Linked DNA regions of Homo sapiens: all the other regions are linked to region 2. Evidence: promoter capture Hi-C in 16 types of primary human blood cells and fetal thymus (Javierre and others, 2016). All regions are on one chromosome and are shown on one strand. Each heading gives the region's core, a stretch centred on a gene start or on the middle of the fragment in contact. The rest is flanking DNA. Distances are from core to core; before and after follow the strand shown.

The links. Contacts are between HindIII fragments. The CHiCAGO score rates a contact against its expected background, and 5 or more counts as called.
Region 1: a contact is called between a fragment that was not itself captured here and the fragment with the promoter of USP25 in region 2, in 1 of 17 cell types (neutrophils). The highest score is 6.2, in neutrophils.
Region 3: a contact is called between a fragment that was not itself captured here and the fragment with the promoter of USP25 in region 2, in 4 of 17 cell types (non-activated CD4 T cells, naive CD8 T cells, total CD8 T cells and 1 more). The highest score is 11.1, in non-activated CD4 T cells.

The regions. Positions count from the first base shown.
Region 1 is chr21:14,699,391-14,702,960 of GRCh38, forward strand. No RefSeq gene overlaps it. Among named protein-coding and RNA genes, the nearest start is that of SAMSN1-AS1, 120 kb to the left of the region's middle. The HindIII fragment of the contact is 4,970 bases long and covers 1-3,570 here.
Region 2 is chr21:15,728,334-15,731,594 of GRCh38, forward strand. It overlaps USP25 (ubiquitin specific peptidase 25), which reads left to right and starts at 1,649. Exons shown (of 26, transcript NM_001283041.3): 1 at 1,649-2,105. The coding sequence starts at 2,061. RefSeq lists a silencer at 1,254-2,213. The HindIII fragment of the contact is 4,884 bases long and covers 657-3,261 here.
Region 3 is chr21:14,672,304-14,675,469 of GRCh38, forward strand. No RefSeq gene overlaps it. Among named protein-coding and RNA genes, the nearest start is that of SAMSN1-AS1, 92 kb to the left of the region's middle. The HindIII fragment of the contact is 723 bases long and covers 1,109-1,831 here.

The DNA.
Region 1 (3,570 bases), core at 52-2,551, 1.0 Mb before region 2:
GTCTATCGATATGTGCCCTAATCTGTTCCTACAGGATATTTTTTTCTAAATTCCTGCAATGGCCTCCTACATGTTCTCTACATTTATCGAATCTCTTATGTACTTCAAATTATTAATGTTCTTGAAGCACAGTTGCAATTCTTTTATTCTCAGTTTTTCATGAGTCAGTCATTCCCCATTCCCTATCACATAAGTGTCACATGCTTTGGTCTCACATCAAAGGCCAGTTACAACTGCCAGCAGCTCTCTATCTGGACTTACTTTCAGCTACTCACATTCATGTTAGCTTTGTTCTAATTAAACACATGGCAATGTTGCCAGGGTACTCCCTTTGATTTCTTAACTCCAAACTCTTTAAGAACAAAATGTGGGCCTGATTCACCTTTACAGTCCCCACTTCCTTCTATGGCCATTTGAGTAACTACTCTCATCCACTGAAACTGTTGCCTTCAATGCTACTGATCTGAAAAAGATCATGAGGCCAAGTTAGGGTCCAGTGGGCAGGAATGTTGTGATTGATTATTAATGTCTGTCATGGGCAGTGGGTAGAGGACAGTAGCAGTATCTGTGCCTGGAATTTTCCATCTTTCATTGTATATTTAACAAATATTTGTTGAGTGAAATTCAACAAGAATTTAGAATAAAGAGATCCTAGGAAAAGGCTCTTTGAGTCTCCTTTGGTTTGAGAAATGACACCACCTTTGTCCACAGAGCCCAGCAATTGTCAGTAAGAACTGAAGCCACCTGCATTAACATGACAAATATTTGTTCCTGGAAATTCTTGCTCAAGAATATAAGGTTATAAATCAATAAATAACTTCACTATTTGCTTTAGGAAAATTCCTGCAAACCAACTTGTCTGGGCAAATATTTGGTCTCCTATCAGGACAGTAGATTGCTCACCTGGGCAAACAAATCACTTATCCAACTTCAGTTTACTTATCAGGATTCACGTTAAGACTCTCCCGTCTTGAGTCCACCAACATGAAAATATTATGACACAAATATTTCCTAGGCATAATCAGTTCTCCATCTTAAACCACACACCCTAAGACCCACTTAAGCCCAGATTCTATCCAAACTCTATATAAATATCCTCTCCTGACATTTGCCTTCTTGAAGCATACTAAGCCTCAATAAAGTAATGTTCTCTGTTACTCTAGTAAGTAAATCAACTTAGTTTTGTTTGCCAACATATTTTGTGGGGTTTTTTTTGATATTTTACACTTGGTAGATTTAAGGAATGCCACAATGTGATCAAATTCATGAAACTGAGAAGCCTTCTGCAAACACTAAGTTGTGCCTTCCTAGCTCTTGAACAGTTTCAGTGACATTTTGAGAAAAGGTGAACTGTTGTCTGGTGCTTTGCAAAGCAACATGACATCTTTACACTTCTACAATGCAAGGAAAAGAAGATTAATTAGCCCTAGTTACTGTCTAGAGGTCAAACACACAAGACCCGTTGGTTCTAGAGTAGGAGCATGTAGAGGTTTCCAAACAATGATGTATATTAGAATTTCCAGGGGACTTGTTTAAAATGAGGATAAAGTCCCATCTTCCAGAGACTCTGATTCAGAAGTCTATGGCAGGGCTCAGGCATCTGCATACCACATAATGTTGCAAGGGGATCATGGCCCACACTCTTTGAATCTACACTGTATCTAAAGTCCAGTCACTTAAGACCATTTCTACTACTGGTCAGTTCCCTTAATGGCCATTTTATCTAATATTCAACTTGCTTTTGACTAGTTTTATGTTTATTTGACTGTCTTCTTTTTCATCTTGTCCTTTTTTCAACTTTAAGAATTTCAAAAAGAATGGAGGAAGATGGGAAGAGAGAGAGAGAAAGAGAGTTTCATCTTGCCTAATTTTATTCATCTGATATGTTTTCTGTATTTTATGAATAATGATAATATATTTCTAATTTTTACATTATTTTTTGTGTTTGCATTGAAAACTAGTTTTAACTAGGCTTTTGGGAGACACTTCCTTAAAAATAATATTTCCAGCAATATTAATTTATTGATAATACATAAAACATAAATTATAATCATTATGCAATGAGCATAATGATCCCTAAAGAAAATGTAGTCAATTTGTCAAATATTAATTTGGTTTAGGAGATGCTTTCTGTTAATGAGCTTATTATATGGATGATGTCAAAAATAGCTTCTTCTTTCCTGTAAAAAACCTTTGGATTTTCATAGTAAATGAAGACATACAGATCCCCCCACACATCTTCCTGACAAGATTTACACTGAGGGCTAGAAAGAGAGCACAAAGAGAGGATATGGTGAGAAGGAATTGTAGGTTATTGGAGAGCAAATTTTCCTTCTTGACAGCTTGCCTAGGACTTGCACTGTGACCCTGTTTGTACTAAGCTCTTAAGCAGTTCTTCTGAACAATTGATAATGAAGGGTGAAATAACTCCAGGAATATTGCAAGTAATGTCTTTTATACATACGTATACATATATATGTGTGTGTGTGTGTGTGTGTGTGTGTCTAAAGTAACTGTTAACAACTTTTTTCTAGCAAAAGCCAATGCCTTATGTTGTTCATCTTGACAAATTCAAAAAAAAGACAATATTTACATATCAAAGATAGTACCTTACTTGCAAAGAGGCCTGTTTCTCCAGATACCTTTTTTAACCCCTTTGGATGAGATTTTTATTGTCAAGTTTATTGGACACCAGCTTTTCTACAAGCACGTTGTATTTTATTCATTCAGCAGGAATTGTACCAATTAAACTTGCCTTACAACTTTTTGCATTATGGTTGGACTTGGTGATTGGCATTAAAAATATATACTTCACAGCTTTTATTATACATAAGCTAGATAAATTGTTAATGCTTTAGAACTCTCTAGGCAATATGAATGATGGAGATTTCTGTGCTATCCTTGATAAAGTTGAGGATACAGAAAGCAGTTTTAATCCTCTTTTTATACTCTGCCTGTCTGCCTGTGGAACAAGTTCAGGGAGCTGCTGTTTAGCAGGAACGGAGCCACAGACTTAATTTTCAAAGCCAGATAAAAGTACATGGTCATATATTCTAAATCTACTTAAAATATAAAATAACTAAATAAACTGACCTAACTAAAGTAATTGTTGTCCTTAAACAATGAATAAGAGTTTTTTTGTTTTTTGTTTTTTTTTGTATTTTTTTTTAAGGCTGAATTCAGGCCAGGTAAAATTTCCATTTGTTTGCATTGTTGTTGTCCAAAGTGCCAATGTTTTGTAAAATTTTAGTCTTTCATTAAAAATAAACCACTATTTTTTATGCAAGAAGGGACAATGATAAATATAGCCAGAGGCAATCTTTTAATTGTACCTTAAGTGTTCTGTCACCTATCCCTAATGTCTTCACTTCAGCTTTACACCTTGGATTCTATTCAACCAGATGCATTTTTTCTTCTAATTATAATCAAGATGTGTCTACATGAAGTGGAAAATGTGAACAATTATTTAGATTGTTCAAAAAAAAAATAAAAGCACATTTCAACTGAAAACATGCCAGTAATTGGAGTAGAATGAAGTATTTTTGAGATGAGAATTCTTTGAATCTTACA
Region 2 (3,261 bases), core at 399-2,898:
ATTGTAAGATCATCTTTTTTTTTCTGTATGGAAGTAACAAATTTAACTCAGAGAAAAGTTGTATTGCCAAATTCTTGAAATTAAACCTTAGTATCTGGCAACATTTTTCCTCCCATGGTACTAGATTACTAGATTTTTATGTTAAATTTAATTTTCTTGAATTCAAATGTATGAGCTTGATTTCTAAAAAACAAACAAACAAACCAAAAAACCAAAACCCTCATATGGAGAAACATGAAGTTAGCATATAAACAAGAAAAGAAGAAACTTTGATCTATAAATGAAGAAAAATGGGTTTTGATAAGCTCTCTTTGACAGGTCACCCTCCTTGGGCTTCAGAGTTATAAAAAAATCGATACGTGAGATTAGAGATGTGACAGTATTTCTAAATTTCTGTTTCCAACCGTTTCATGACTTTTCATTTCCTCTAGAAAAGACATAGGATATTAATATAATAAGATTTGCAATTTGTTAAATATCAAATGAGTCAACAAATATGAAGCTTCAAGGAAAAGGTGACAACAGGTGGTACCAGACATCTGAGCTGCAGAACAAAGATGGTTGTAAAGTGCACAGAACTGTTACAAAGCCTTAAGAGCTACTATAATCCATGATTATTAAATAACACCACATACTATTTCAATTAGCATTTGCCAAGCTTGCTTTCCTTGTCATTGGATTAAAAATTATACCCGGATTTTCAAGTGTATTCTATTTGTGACAATATGCATTGATAATTTCTCTCCTCACACTGCTGCACTCTCACCTCCGTTCCCAGATTAGCTCCTGGAACTCGAGATATTTTTGTGGCTAGAGATTGCTTTCTTAATGTTAGATTTTCCTTACAATTCCATATATAGTCAAGCATTCCATGCATGGTAGTTAATTGTTTGCTTAATTTGGCAACTGGGATATTAGAATTATGTATCATTAGGCAGTGATATTTTTGTAAGGTTGTTTGCTAGATAGATCCTATTTCATTTATATTAAGTCTTGGGAAGATAAACTTTATTTTTCCAGAGCCTAGCAGTGACTGACACATATTCGAATGAATGAAGGTAGATAGAAAATGTCTATATTCATTTACGTAATGATTAGTTAAGGAGAAAAGTACTTCCCAGCATAAAGATTTCTGGCAACCCTTTGCTTATTTGACTTTTCCCTTCAGGCAAGTTCAAGGCTTGTGAAATTCCTAGAAAGGCGAGGGGAGAGAACGCGTGACACAGAAAGGGGCCGGAGTTCGGGACCCTACGCAGTTTTGGGACGTTATGGGCATGGAGGGAAATGTTTGCTTTGGAGGCTTTGGGTAAGCTAGGGATCCGACAAGCCCTGGGCGCAGGGAGGAACGCTGCCCTCCGGCCTCCAGTCGCGCTCCCCGAAGCCCAGCGCCAGCGTCGCGCAACCTGCCGCAGGGGCGGCTCCCGGGCCAGGCAGCCAGGCGCGCCCTCGCCCCACCCGGGAACGCCAGGCCCGCGCAGGGAGGGGCGGGGCTCCATGGCGGCCCCGCCCCGCCGCCCGGAGGGTCACAATGTAGGGTTAGGGCGGCCGGCGGGCGGGGCTCTGCGGGGGAGGAGCCGCCGGGCGGGGGCGGGGATGGCGCGTGGGGGAGGGGAGGGAGGAGGACTCGCGGAGGGAGGAGGACAACGCCATTCCGGGCGGCCGCTCCCTCCGTCCCCTCTCTCCCTTCCCCAAAGCAGCCCGCGGACCGGCAGCAAAGGAACGTGCGAACGCGTGACGCCGCCCGACTGGCTCGCGCTCTCCCGTGCCCCGGCGTCCTCCGCCCGCTCATGGCCCGGGCCGCCGCGGACGAGCGGCGCTGAGGCGGGCCGCGTGGAGACGTGAGGCGGCCGCCGTGGCCCTCACAGTCGGCGTTTCGCCGCCTGCCCGCGGTGCCCGCGCACGCCGGCCGCCATCGCCTTCGCGCCTGGCTGGCGGGGGCGCTGTCCTCCCAGGCCGTCCGCGCCGCTCCCTGGAGCTCGGCGGAGCGCGGCAGCCAGGGCCGGCGGAGGCGCGAGGAGCCGGGCGCCACCGCCGCCGCCGCCGCCGCCGCCGCGGGGGCCATGACCGTGGAGCAGAACGTGCTGCAGCAGAGCGCGGCGCAGAAGGTGAGGCGAGTCCGCCAGCCGGCGGGCCCCACTTCTCCTTCCGACGGGCTGTCCTCTCCCGCTGCGGCCGGGCGCCCCGGCCTCGCCGCCGCCGCCTTCCCGGGCTTCCTCCCCGGTCACCCCCGGCCCCTGCCCATCGCCTCGGGGGCGTCGCGCCCAGAGCCCAGCTGCGTGTGGGAAGCAGAGTGTAGTTTGCGGGCTTCAATCCACTTCCTTCTGCCGATTGTTTTCCCGTAGCAGACGGTGCCAGGTATTGAGAGCGACCCTCACATTCCTACAGTGCTCTGTGTGGCATCTTAATGAAACTTTATTCTCTCCCCTTAAATGAGAAAGAATAGCTAGTTGTCATCCTTTCTGAACCGATTTTGTCTTTCAAAGGTAGTAGTGTACCAGGCCTGCTATTTTGCAAAACGGTCTCCACCAAAATCGAATTACCTGCCTCGCGGGGCAGGCGTGTTGACCAGGTGGACTCTAGAAGTAGGTGGTTTGCTTGGTTTCTTTTCCTTTTAAGGTTTCCCTTTCTTCTTCTTCTTTTCTGTTTTTTTTTTTTTTTTTTTTTTTTTCAATATAGAAACTGTCCCTAAGAGAGGAAACCTTTCTGGCCATGTTATTCCAGGAATCTTTTGTCCCCTAAGTTTGACCTTGTTCTTTCGTTCACCCTTTACTCTTGCATCAGTCACACATTCAAATGGTCACTCACTAAAGAAAACAATTAAAAAACTGTTTGTGAAACTTTATATCTTTAAAGTGAATAGAGATCATTCTGCTATTTTAGATTTTGCTTTCAGAATCTTAAGTGCACTATCATGGCTTGCACCATGTTCTGAAGAGTAGTTGGCCATGATTTAACTTCTTTTTTTAATTTTTAATTTGCGTGAAAAGCATTTTGGGCAAAAGAGTAAACCGTGCCTTAGTTGTGTTGGTATTACGGGGACAGTTAGGGTTTACTGTGATCAACCACCAGAGTTATGTTTGGTTTATCTGGGTGAGTAATGAATGCCCCACCCTGTTGTAGATTTGGTGTAGATTGCAATATTCTACCTGTGCTTGACTTTAGAATAAGACCTGTTCTAAAATGGGCTGTCTACATACAGCCTGCTAAATTTTTGCTTTGAGATTATTTTTAGAATTTTATGATACTGCTTTAAAGTAATCG
Region 3 (3,166 bases), core at 220-2,719, 1.1 Mb before region 2:
TTGATGTGAGGTAGGAGTTGAGGTTCTTTTTTGTTTTTCATTGATATATCCAATTAACCCAGCACAATTTTTTAAGAAGACCACTGATTCCTATAGAAATTCATGACACACTTATCATATCAAGGCACTATTTTAGCGTGGATATATTTTTGGAATAGCCATAATTCCACTTGTCTTTGTGCAAATATTATACTTTCTTAATTACTACAGCTTTAGAGTAAGTCCTCCTATCTGGTACAGCTCTGCTGTTTTTCCTTAATAATATCTTGGCTATCTTAGGTTCTTAAGTATATATTTTTAAAGCATTAGATTAAAAATCTAAAGAAAAGTTTGAGTTTCATTTAGCCACTGACTACACATTACCTCATGAAAGAATTTAACTTCCCTTTCTGTTTCCTCACTTGTAAAATGTGCAGTGCTTGAATTAGACAATCCCAAAGACTTTTGCATTTGTGATTTTCTGGCCCAATTCACACAGAAAGGGACAGCAACTAATATTCATAAATAAACCACAGGAAACCTCCATTGAACGGATGATGGCCTAAATGCAGTCAATTTTTTTCTTCACAAATGTTATTTCACATTTAAAATAATGCATTTTGAAACTGGGGTTAGAGACTACTTGTTTAATATAATATCAACAGATTTACAAATTCATTGTATTTCTAATTGCCTCTTTAAAATGTGACAAAACACATTGCTTTTATTGTAAAATTTTGATAATATTCAAAACATTGGCTCACATATATTTCTCTATTCCTAGGACAAAAATGAAAGTCTGCAATAATCAGCACCACTCTACCTCTCCAAATAGGATCTTTAACCCAAACCCATCCTCTTCATTTTACCAGACTTATACCACAATGCCATAATTTGTTTTGCTCTCAAAATTTTCCTAATTCCTCATGCCTAAAATATTCTCCTGCTTTATTTTCACCAATTCACACCTAATAGTTTCTTTACAAATCATATCTGCCTGTCTTTCTTGAGTCACTTTTTTCTACTCACTTTTGTACTTTGTACTCATCCACCTGCACTGCATTACATAGTCTATCTCTATACACAAATTTATTAAACATTTTATTCTCATCTCCCTACTTAGATTCTAAGCTTCTATTTTGAATGGTCAGATGTGGAGTACTGAGTTTAGTATTATGCAACTATAGCTAGATCTTTGGGAAGAACACTTAGGTTGTGAGTACCTCCTCTGTGCCAGTCATGTGTTCTCTCATTTCACGATAGCCCTGTGAGGTATATCCGTCTCATTTTTAAAATGAGAAAATGATATTTATTAAAATTAGGTAACATCCTCAGTGTCACTTGTAGCATCTGAGCCTTTCCTGCCATCATGGAAATGGGGATGCTAACAAATTGGCTCAGAAGGCCCAGCTGACCATTGGGATGGGGAGGAGGGGGTCCTACAGGGCACAGACTAGGAACAAAGGAGCGCTTCTTATCAGAGACAAGAGGCACTGGGGCCAGAAAAGCAGACTAAGCAAGAAGTGATACAATCAGGTCAACGTCTGGGCTGAGAGATATAAGATAGATGCCAAAGCCAGAGGAGCAGAGTGTGAAACAGGGAGATAAAATGGAGCAGAGCCTGCTTTGAAATGCAGAGATGCGATTGAAAGAGGGAGGATGTACAGCAACAGAAAAGGCAGCAGGTGATTAATAGGCATTTTCTGGATGCAAAAATTAATAAATAAAAGAATAACTTATAAGGGATAAATGAGAGAGTGGCAACAAAACCATATTTAAACATTTGCAACCTGGGTAACTGGCAAATTATTAGTATGATTTAATAGAATTAGAGAATTCGGAAGAAAATGAAAGCTTGAGTAGTGCACATCGAAATGCATTTTGGATGGGACATTTAGCCATCAATGTTTAACAGGCAATTGAAAATGTATGGAGCTCAGAAGAAAAGTAGATACTGGAGTCTGCAGCTTACAAAATGCTTTACAATATTTTACCTTATTCTCTAAAATAACTAATAAAAAAACTGGGGTTGAGAAAAGTTGAGTAACCCCCACAAAGTGGCACAGTTAATGGGTGGATAACCTAGAATTTGAATTCAGGCTTCTTACCATAAAGTTGAGTGACTTCCCCAAAGTGGCACAGTTAATGGGTGGATAATCTGGAATTTGAATTCAGGCTTCTTATCATAAAGTTCAGTGGTGGATAATCTAGAATTCGAATTCAGGCTCTTACCATAAAGTTCAGTGCTCATTTTATTACATTTTACTGCCTTTCATATAAGAACGAGCAAATCATCTAAAGAAAAAGAGGGTGTCAGATACAGGATTCTATTTGGGCTGCAAATATGATAATGCCTTATGCTAACGTGCATAGCTTCGGGTGACAACAAACTGAAATTTATCAAAAACAGGTTGACCTCCCCCTTGTGAAGGATTTTTTTTATTCATTCCAAGAGTTGCTTGCTTATTGCAATTTTGCCTGCTGGTGTGGACATAGCTGAGAGCATCACCTGCCTGCCAAAAAAAGTAAATATGCTGGAAGCTGTTAAGTGGATTAAAACTTGGTACCACAAAGTAGTGCCCAATAACATAGTCAGAAATTCCACCTCAGCCAAAGATGTTCCTAAAAACTCAAAAACAAAAAGGAGAGGAAAGAACATTTTAGGAGGATTTATGAGGTAGAAGATACGAAGAAATTATACAATATACAAGCAAAGAAAACAAATTTTTGAAAATTTGCCAGATAGCTGGAAGCCAAAATTGTGAAAAGAAAAATCCCTATGAGAACTGCTAGTTTTATAAAATATTCTGGGAATTTAAGAAAAGGTAAATTAAATAAATTATGCATTAGTTATATTATAATTATGCTGCTGAGCTGGCATCCTTATTTTCTCCAAATTCTATCAATCAGTCAAAGAAAGTCACAGTGCATGGTCAGATTCAAAGTCACATTGCAATGGATGTAAACACAGACACCAAGAACAATTGCAGTCATTTTGTTGTCAGCCTGCAACTACCAGTAACCAGTGGTTTGATTTCAGGCAGTTCATTTCTCTTGGCCTCAGTTTCTTTATCTCCAAGATATGACTTAGGACTTTCTCTGTAGGATTCCTTACACTCCTCTGTTCCTAAAGCAACAACTTTCAAAACTGCCTTACAGGCAAATTAGAGGACTTTTCTGTATCTCA